Linked DNA regions of Homo sapiens: region 1 is linked to region 2. Evidence: promoter capture Hi-C in 16 types of primary human blood cells and fetal thymus (Javierre and others, 2016). All regions are on one chromosome and are shown on one strand. Each heading gives the region's core, a stretch centred on a gene start or on the middle of the fragment in contact. The rest is flanking DNA. Distances are from core to core; before and after follow the strand shown.

The links. The method cuts DNA at HindIII sites, captures the fragments that hold promoters and counts their contacts. A CHiCAGO score of 5 or more calls a contact.
Region 1: a fragment that was not itself captured here is called in contact with the fragment with the promoter of CYSTM1 in region 2 in 1 of 17 cell types (neutrophils); the score reaches 5.2 in neutrophils.

Annotation. Positions count from the first base shown.
Region 1 is chr5:141,623,729-141,627,751 of GRCh38, reverse strand. HDAC3 (histone deacetylase 3) reads left to right here. Exons shown (of 15, transcript NM_003883.4): 11 at 1,469-1,558; 12 at 1,681-1,739; 13 at 1,988-2,067; 14 at 2,387-2,544. Among named protein-coding and RNA genes, the nearest start is that of DIAPH1, 6.7 kb to the right of the region's middle. The HindIII fragment of the contact is 7,461 bases long and covers 1-4,023 here.
Region 2 is chr5:140,173,851-140,178,389 of GRCh38, reverse strand. It overlaps CYSTM1 (cysteine rich transmembrane module containing 1), which reads right to left and starts at 3,202. Exons shown (of 3, transcript NM_032412.4): 1 at 3,105-3,202. RefSeq lists a silencer at 2,815-3,104 and an enhancer at 3,395-3,624. The HindIII fragment of the contact is 7,638 bases long and covers 1-4,539 here.

The sequences.
Region 1 (4,023 bases), core at 991-3,490, 1.5 Mb before region 2:
CATCTTGAACAGGGTTCCCTAGATGGTCATTCATTCACGATATATTTTTATTAAGCACCTGTTATGTTCCAGGCATCATACCACATCATGGGGATGGAATAAGGAGTCTCCCATGGAGTTTACAGTTTAGGAAACAGACAAAAAATAAATAATCAAATGAAATAAATAGATTCTTATAAATTCTGTGAAAGAAAAAAAGAAAGCTGAGACACAGGATACAATGGGGGACCTACTTGAGATAGCATGGTTTCGGAAAGTTTTTCTGAGGAAGTAAAATTTGAGTTGAGACCTGGAGACTAAGAAGGAGTGAGTCATAAGAGGAGCAGAGAGAAGCCTGACCCAAGCATGGACAAAGGCCCACAAAAGGCTCTGAGGGCTGGGCCCAGTGGCACACACCTATAATCCCAACACTTCCAGAGGCCAAGGTGGGAGAATCGCCTGAGGCTAGGAGTTTGAGGCCAGCCTGGGCAACATAGTGAGAGCCATCTCTACAGAAAATAAAAAACAAAATCAGCTGGGCATGATGGTGCATGCCTATAGTCCTAGCTACTCAGGAAGCTGAGGCAGGAGGATCACTTGAGCCTAGGAGTTTGAGGTTACAGTGAACTATGATTGTGCCACTGGACTTCAGTCTGTTGAGGTGAGGTCCGAGAAGCTGGCCATGGTGAGATTGTGCAGAGCCTTTAAACCCTGGTAAGGAGTTTGAATTATATTCCAAAGATGATGGGAAACCATTGAAGGATTTTAAGCAGGAAAGTGACATGATCCAATTTGTGTTTGAAAGTGACAATTCTGACTGCTGAATAGAGAAAGGTTTGGGTAGGGGGGATGGAGATGGAAGTAGAAAGACCAGTTAGGAAGCCATGGTGTTGGTTAGGTGCCCAGACTAAGGTGGAGGGGGTGGCAATGGAGAGAAGTAGATGATCTGAGAGGTGTGTGTGTGTGTGTGTGTATATATATATATATACACACACACACACACATATATATGTTTTTTTTTTTCTTTTTTGAGATGGAGTCTTGCTCTGTCACCCAGGCTGGAGTGCAGTGGCACGATCTTGGCTCAGTGCAAGCTCTGCCTCCTGGGTTCAAGCATTTCTCCTGCCTCAGCCTCCTGAGTAGCTGGGACTACTACAAAGGCGTGAGCACCGCGCCGGGCGTGAGTTATATTTTCAAGGCTAGAATTGACAGAACTTGGGTTGATGAGAATAGTTGATTAGCAGGCAGGGTGCCAGGGAGGGTGTTGAGCAGAACAGAGGGGGGACTGTGCTTTATTTTAAAATTTTTATTGAGACACAGCATATAAAGTATACCCAAATCTTAAGGGTATAACATAATGAATTTCACTATCAAGATAAAGATTTAGAACATTTATAGTTTTCTTGTGCTCCTTTCAGGCAATACCTAAAGGTATTTACCTTGTCTTTTGATAACCTCCTCCACATCTTCCTCTGGTTCCTTTTAACAGGGAATGCGTTGAATATGTCAAGAGCTTCAATATCCCTCTACTCGTGCTGGGTGGTGGTGGTTATACTGTCCGAAATGTTGCCCGCTGCTGGTGAGCACTCTCCTGATTTCCTCCCCTGTTGTCCAGTGTGAGCTAGGGTGTCCCTCAGATATGGCCACATGGGTCCTTCAGCCCACTTGGTCAGCCTGCTCCCCTCTGCTGGTTGGTTTCAGGACATATGAGACATCGCTGCTGGTAGAAGAGGCCATTAGTGAGGAGCTTCCCTATAGTGGTAAGGACCACCCCACAACACCCCCATAACAGGAAGGCCATTCTCACCAGATTCCAGAATGACCTGGTTTGAAGGCACATGGGAAATTTTACACTCTCAGAGCTCTGCAGACTAAACCCCTGGGCTCAGAGCAGGGAAGAGATTGGGCAGCTATTATGTAGGTGCTCTGGATGGGAAGGAAAAAGATTGGGAAGTCTTGTTAGCTGCCTTTCTCAGTCTGAGCCATACTTTCTCCTCTCCTCCCCAAGAATACTTCGAGTACTTTGCCCCAGACTTCACACTTCATCCAGATGTCAGCACCCGCATCGAGAATCAGAACTCACGCCAGGTCAGCAGCTCAGAAAAGCTGAGCACAAACTTCTCCTGAAAGGTGGAGCCCAGGAGAGGTCAAAGATGTGGGAAGTAGGAAAAACCAAAGAGAAGGAAGTTCTAAGCCATCACAGTCACTGTTATTGACTAGGAGGCAGTCCAGTTTAAAGTAGAGGCAGTTGGGGTTGGTGGGGAGGGAGAGCTATCAGTTGGGGGACCTGAACTAGAGGTACCACTGAGATGAAAACCAGTATGGTAGGGGTAAAAGGCAGCTAGGAGATTCCATGTCCTGGGAATCTCTGGAAACTGCTCACTCTGTATTCCTCATTTCCAACCAGTATCTGGACCAGATCCGCCAGACAATCTTTGAAAACCTGAAGATGCTGAACCATGCACCTAGTGTCCAGATTCATGACGTGCCTGCAGACCTCCTGACCTATGACAGGACTGATGAGGCTGATGCAGAGGAGAGGGGTCCTGAGGAGAACTATAGCAGGTCTGGGAGCAGGGACTTCAGCCTACTTTCAATAGGCTTGCTGGGGAGGTTTAAAAGGGAAAAAGTAAATGGGAAGGTATTAGTTTAATTGCCTCTGGCTTACCTCCTTTAGTCTGCTACAATTTCCTCACTCTTTTCTTTGTTATTTTTAATGACAAAAGTAACACGTATTTATTGCAAAATTTTAAAACAGCACCAAAATATGGTGTTGGCGTTCACACAATCCCAGACCTATTCCACAGGAGTAACCACTGTTAATAGTTTTTATTGTTTTGGATAGACCTTTTTCTATAGATTGCAAATATACTATTCTGTATGTACATATAAACAAACACATATACACTCATTTACAGTTTGTGTGGTTTTTGGTTTTTCGTAAATACAAATAGGGTCATTCTACGTATGCTGCTTTACATCATATAGCTGTTTTCAGCTAGCTAATATAGATCTGCTTCAGTATTTTATCAGCTGTATAATAATTTACTATGTGGATAGATTATTTTCCATTTTTTTGGTATTACAATAATAATGTGGCAATGAACCCCCTTACATTATACATCTTTGCATTCTTGTTTGAGTGGGTTAGATAGTAGAATGGTTGCTGCTAGGTCAAAGGCTGTGTGCATTAATTTTTTTTTTTTTTTTTTTTTTGAGACAGGGTCTCATTCTGTCACCCAGGCTGGAGTACAGTGGCATGATTATAGCTCACTGCAATCTTGAACTCCTGGGTTCAAGCGATCCTCCTGCCTCAGCCCCTCGAGTAGCTGGAATCATAGGTGTGCACCACGACACCTGGCTAATTTTTTTTTTTTTTTTTTTTTTTTTTTTTTTTTTTGGTAGAGACGGAGTCTTGCCTTGTTGCCCAGGCTGGTCTCAAACTCCTGGGCTCAAATGTCCTCCTGCCCCAGCCTTCCAAAGTGCTGGGATTATAGGCGTGAGCCACTGAGCCTGGCCTAAAATTTTTTATATTTGCTGCCAAATTGCCGTCCAGAAAGTCTGTAGCACCCTATAGTCTTGCCAGCATTTTTCTCAGTCTTTCCAGGTCTTGAGCTGGACAGGTCACTGCCTGCGTAATACTCTCTAAGGCTCTTTGATTTCTTTGCTCTGTTAATTTTTTCGGGTGGGATAATTGCATTGTGGTTATGTTTTTTTTTTTTTTTTAAAAGTCTTTATCTTTCTGAGATACATACAAAATATTTGTAGATGGAATGAATTAGGGGGGAAAAAGGATAGGATGGAATTTTTTTTTAATCCCAAAACTTTGCTGAAAAATGAAAGGGAAAGACAACAGAACCAAGAAGTGCAGAAACAGATGCACTTAATGGGGAACAGATTTCCTTACATGACTGAGGGATAACCACAGCTGGACACTTGTGGGACACGCTGTCTTGCTCCCACGCAGGGTTAGAGGTTTGAGCCGGCTCTGCTGCAGAGCCTGATGGGCTTCTCAGCCCCTTCTAGAATCTGCTTCTGTCTTAG
Region 2 (4,539 bases), core at 1,953-4,452:
AAAAACTTTTATCACATCTCAAAATATACCATTCATCCAAGAATTAAAATATTCTGCTTTGGAGGAGCTCAAATTTCATATAAGCCTCTCATTAATTCTCCTTGGTACCTCTGTGAGGAGGTACTGACCCGCATTCAAGGTCAAAGAAAGTTTCCATGCCAAGAAAGGAGTGCCCTGCTCAAGGCCTTAGTTGACAAATGTGAGCTCAAAATGCTCCAGCCCATACCCCAGCCCTGCCTTTCACCTCAGCCCAGTCCCCCTTAAGAAAGAGCATTTCTATTAAAGGCCAGCCCTGTTGTTTATTATAGTTTGTATTTAGGGAAACACACTAACATTTTTTTCCTGACAGTAAAGTCTTAAGTTCTCTACCAATGAGAAAACTTGTGGGGGTGGCTTGGGTGAATGAAAGCAGAAAATTTCCAAAAACTTTTGGCCTACTTAACTGCCCTGACAGCACATAGTTATTTTGTTTGGGAAAGGAGGGGGTGGACTGTTTCTTTCCAAAGGAACCATAATTAGTTGGCCACTTCAAATAGTATCAAAGAGATTTGGAAAACAGTTACTTTTCTAAATTTTTTAATGAGGCCAAGACATCTGATTTCCAGCGATTCTTAATATTAACAAGCTCCTGCAAAGCCCCTTAAAAATCACTATCATAATCTCTACCACTCAACAGGAACACACGGGGAAAAAACTACTCTGGCCTTTTACACACTTCGGGGCTTCTTTTACAGAGAATGACTTCACTGATCTGACTGGAAGTCCCGTTTCCCCAGGTCTCACCCTGGATTTGCACTCCTTTGAGTGCTGCACCGGTTTCTATATTTACGCACAAACCAGCTGCGGCCACCTTCCTTCGCAATTCCCAAACCTGCCTTTCACTGTACAGGATCCCTGGAGGTCCAATTCTGTTTTCTGGAGTCAAAGAAATACAAAATAATTTCACTACCTCCCAGAAAACAGACTTTGGTAAGTTTCAATATAAAATAGACAGCTCTTGAACCCAGGAGGCAAAGGTTGCAATGAGCCAAGATCTCGACACTGCACTCCAGCCTGGGCGACAGAGCAAGACTCCGCCTCAAAAATAAACAAATAAATAAAATAAAATAGACAGCTGTGTATTTTTGGTCCTAGCACCAATAAATTTCAGGGCTGGGAAAAATCATAAATTACCAAAGCATTCCTCTTCATATAACCAAAATATATTTTTCCTGTTGCTCAGGAAATTAAGACAAAATAGCCAACTAACACTTACGCAGCCTTACACGGAGAAACTCAAAGCTGGCAGGAAAGGACTAGAGATTTTTTTTTTTTTTTTTTTGAGACAGAGTCTCGCTCTGTCGCCCAGGCTGGAGTGCAGTGGCGCAGCCTCGGCTCACTGCAAGCTCCACCTCCCGGGTTCACGCCATTCTCCTGCCTCAGCCTCCCGTGTAGCTGGGATTACAGGCGCCCGCCACCACGCCCGGCTTATTTTTTATATTTTTAGTAGAGACGGGGTTTCACCGTGTTAGTCAGGATGGTCTCGATCTCCTGACCTCGTGATCCGTCCGCCTCGGCCTCCCAAAGTGCTGGGATTACAGGTGTGAGCCACCGCACCAGGCCAGGTCTAGAGATCTTTGATCTACAATCAACAAATAGTATGGGACTCCTTTCAGCGAATCCAATGCCCCACATGAATGTTTGGATGCTGGTTCTCCTTTAATAACTTCCCCCTATTAAATCTCTTACCAGTCATTTGGGGTTTGGGTTTCACCCTAGGGATACAAGGTGTTTGTAAGTCACTCTGAAACCTCTGAAGGGCAAAGTGTTGTGGACGCTATAATCTCCCTGCATACTGAGGGGGGCATAGCTCCCAACCAGTCATTAAATCCCGTCAAATGAGATACTCGAAAATGAGCTGCCCTTGGGTGGGTCCTTTCATAAAAAGGAATTTTTAAAAATCTGCTAACATGGTTACTCCACAAAGTTTACATGTATCATATTGTATAAATCTATAAATATGTACAATTATTTTTTGTTTAATTTCTAAAAATTTGCCAACAATGGCTGAAAAAGGCACCTGGCTGCCTGAGCCCCTACCCTTGTCGGTTACAAGTATTTCATAAGCAGGGTTTGAGGAATCCCATCAGAGAAGAGTGTTGTCACCTTTTTGCCGGAATGTCACACCAACTTCCTCAGTGTTCCCCTCACACCAACTTCCTCAGTGTTCCCCCTACCCCAATCTAGCCAACGTTTCAATGGCTCCCCACAGCACACAGTGCCTCTCAGGTGGGCACTCAAGGGTCCTTTCCTAATCCTCCCTAACCTAATTCTCCAAACTTTTTTTCCCCCAAAACAGCCCAGCAGACGGTCCAGTCAGTCCCCAAATCGTTTTTCCTCATGGTCTCCTTCCCCAGGGGTCCTCCCCTCCTTCTCTCCCCCCTGCAACCTCCACTGCTACCGGGAGATTAGTTCCCACCCGTCAGGACCCCGCTCAGATTTCACTTCCTCCAACAGGTCCGCTCAGATCCCAATCCACGGCTCTCAACAGCAGCCGGGATTCCTTTCCCCCGCAACGCCTTCTCTGAACACCCCGGCCTCCGAGCGCCGGCTTTGCGTTCCCTAGTTACTTCCAGTCACTAGTTACTTCCGCTCCGCTCCCACCCGCGGGACTCGCGACCTGCCCCCTGCCCCCGGCTGGCCCAGCTCGGAATAGGCAGAGCAGCGCCTCAGAAATCGCAGCCCAAGGCGAAGAAATCCAGAAGCCTCCCGCGGACGTCCCCCGGGACGGGGTGTGGCGAGCCCCGCTCCGAGCCCGCCGACTCCTCGTGAGACGAGAACCGCAGCGACGCGGAGACCCTGTGAGTCCACCGCCGAGACGCGCGGCGCGGCGACCAGGAGCCCCAGAGTAGCCGCGGGGCGCCGGGAGGGATCCAGCTGGCGGCAGCAGCTTCCCTGCCTCCCTGCCCCTCCCCAGGGGCTGCGCGAACCCCTGCCTGAGCCAGGCCAGCCCGGGTGCCCCCCAGTTCTCAGGGCGCTCCCCAGGGAGCCCGGGGACGCGCCCTGTCCGTGCCTGATCCCCGCCCTGGTCCCAGCTGGGTCGGGCCAGGTCCGCTGCACCTCACCTCTCCTCTCCACGAACCGACTGGATAACGGTCGGGTCTGAACCTGAGGAGCCCGGACCAGCCCGCAGTAGACTTGCCGCACCTGTCTCAGAGCAAGTGAGGAGCAGCCGGGCGCCTGACGTCACGGCCGCTCCCAGCGCCGCGAACCGGGAGTCACCTGATCACCCTGGCAACGCGCGCGGCGCGGGGCGAGGCGAGGCTTGCGTCACAGCACGAGCCCCGCCCCCAACTGCTCGGCCTCCAAGCGCCGCCGGAAGCGCTCTCTTGCAGTCGGCGCAGTCGGGAGGCGGGGTCGGTCTCCGACTTCCCAACGTGGGCCTCCCAGCTGCGCTGGATACTTAGGACTCCCACAGGCGTCCCCCTCAGATTGGATTGGTTCTCCGAGACTCCACCCGATACCCCAACTCCGCTAGTTCAGGCGCCTGGGAGGCAAGACCAGCGTCCATGCGGAACCCTGCTCAGTGCGTGGCATGAGGGGTCGGCTGTGGGCTGCTGCCTCCTCGTGTCTTGTTGGTCCAGACCCAACTAGGGTTGGGGGCTTACTTCCCGAGCTGTACCTGAGCGGAATGGGGCTGAGGCTGATAACTGGATTGCTCTCTGGCTACTTTTCCCCATAAACCTTGCAACAAGTAGTCCCGCCAGTACTTTAGAGTGTAATGAGACTTCATTCACATCAGGAGGGGGAAGGGGGACAGAATCTTCTGTCCTGAAGGTTTCCTTCTTCTGTTCCAACAGGAAGAGAAGTTACCGAAAAGCTCCCAGAGCAAGGCCTAGAATGAGCTTGCAAGTCCTACTTGCAAAAAATTTTTTATTTTTCATTTTAGAAATTGATTTTCTCTCCATATTCCTCCCCTTGCTTGCTATTAGGTTGGTGCAAAAGTAATTGTGGTTTTTGCATTTTTTTTTTAAATGGCAAAAACAGCAATTACTTTTGCACCACTCTAATATAAGTATATGCCTACAACTTTTGTTACTCTCTAGGCTTCCCAGATAAGACTATCAGCTTCGAAATGAAAATTTAACATCCCCTGGAGGTCTCAGTGTGAGAGTCACTGCCTATTTCACACCTTCACTATTTGCTGACTTTCATTTCAGTTTTACTCTCCTCATCCCTGCACTGCCAAGAAGGTTTCATATGTATTGAAACCTTCCCTCTCAAGAGTTTAGGATCTTAGACCAAGAAGTTAGTTTATAGTCAACTTCTTGTGAGCATCTTTTAGTGTCAGGCAATGGGCCATGGGCAGATTGAGATGTGGTTCTCGAAGATCAAACGTGTATGGGTGGTATGTCTCACATAAGTACAACTTGTACTGTTTATTATGACTTAATCATTGTATTTAAGTGGCACTTTTTAATTTTCACACTTAAAGAAACTCATATAAGTGGGAAAGAAGACAGCTGTGAAAGGTAGAGAAGAACCATGGCTCTAGACAGA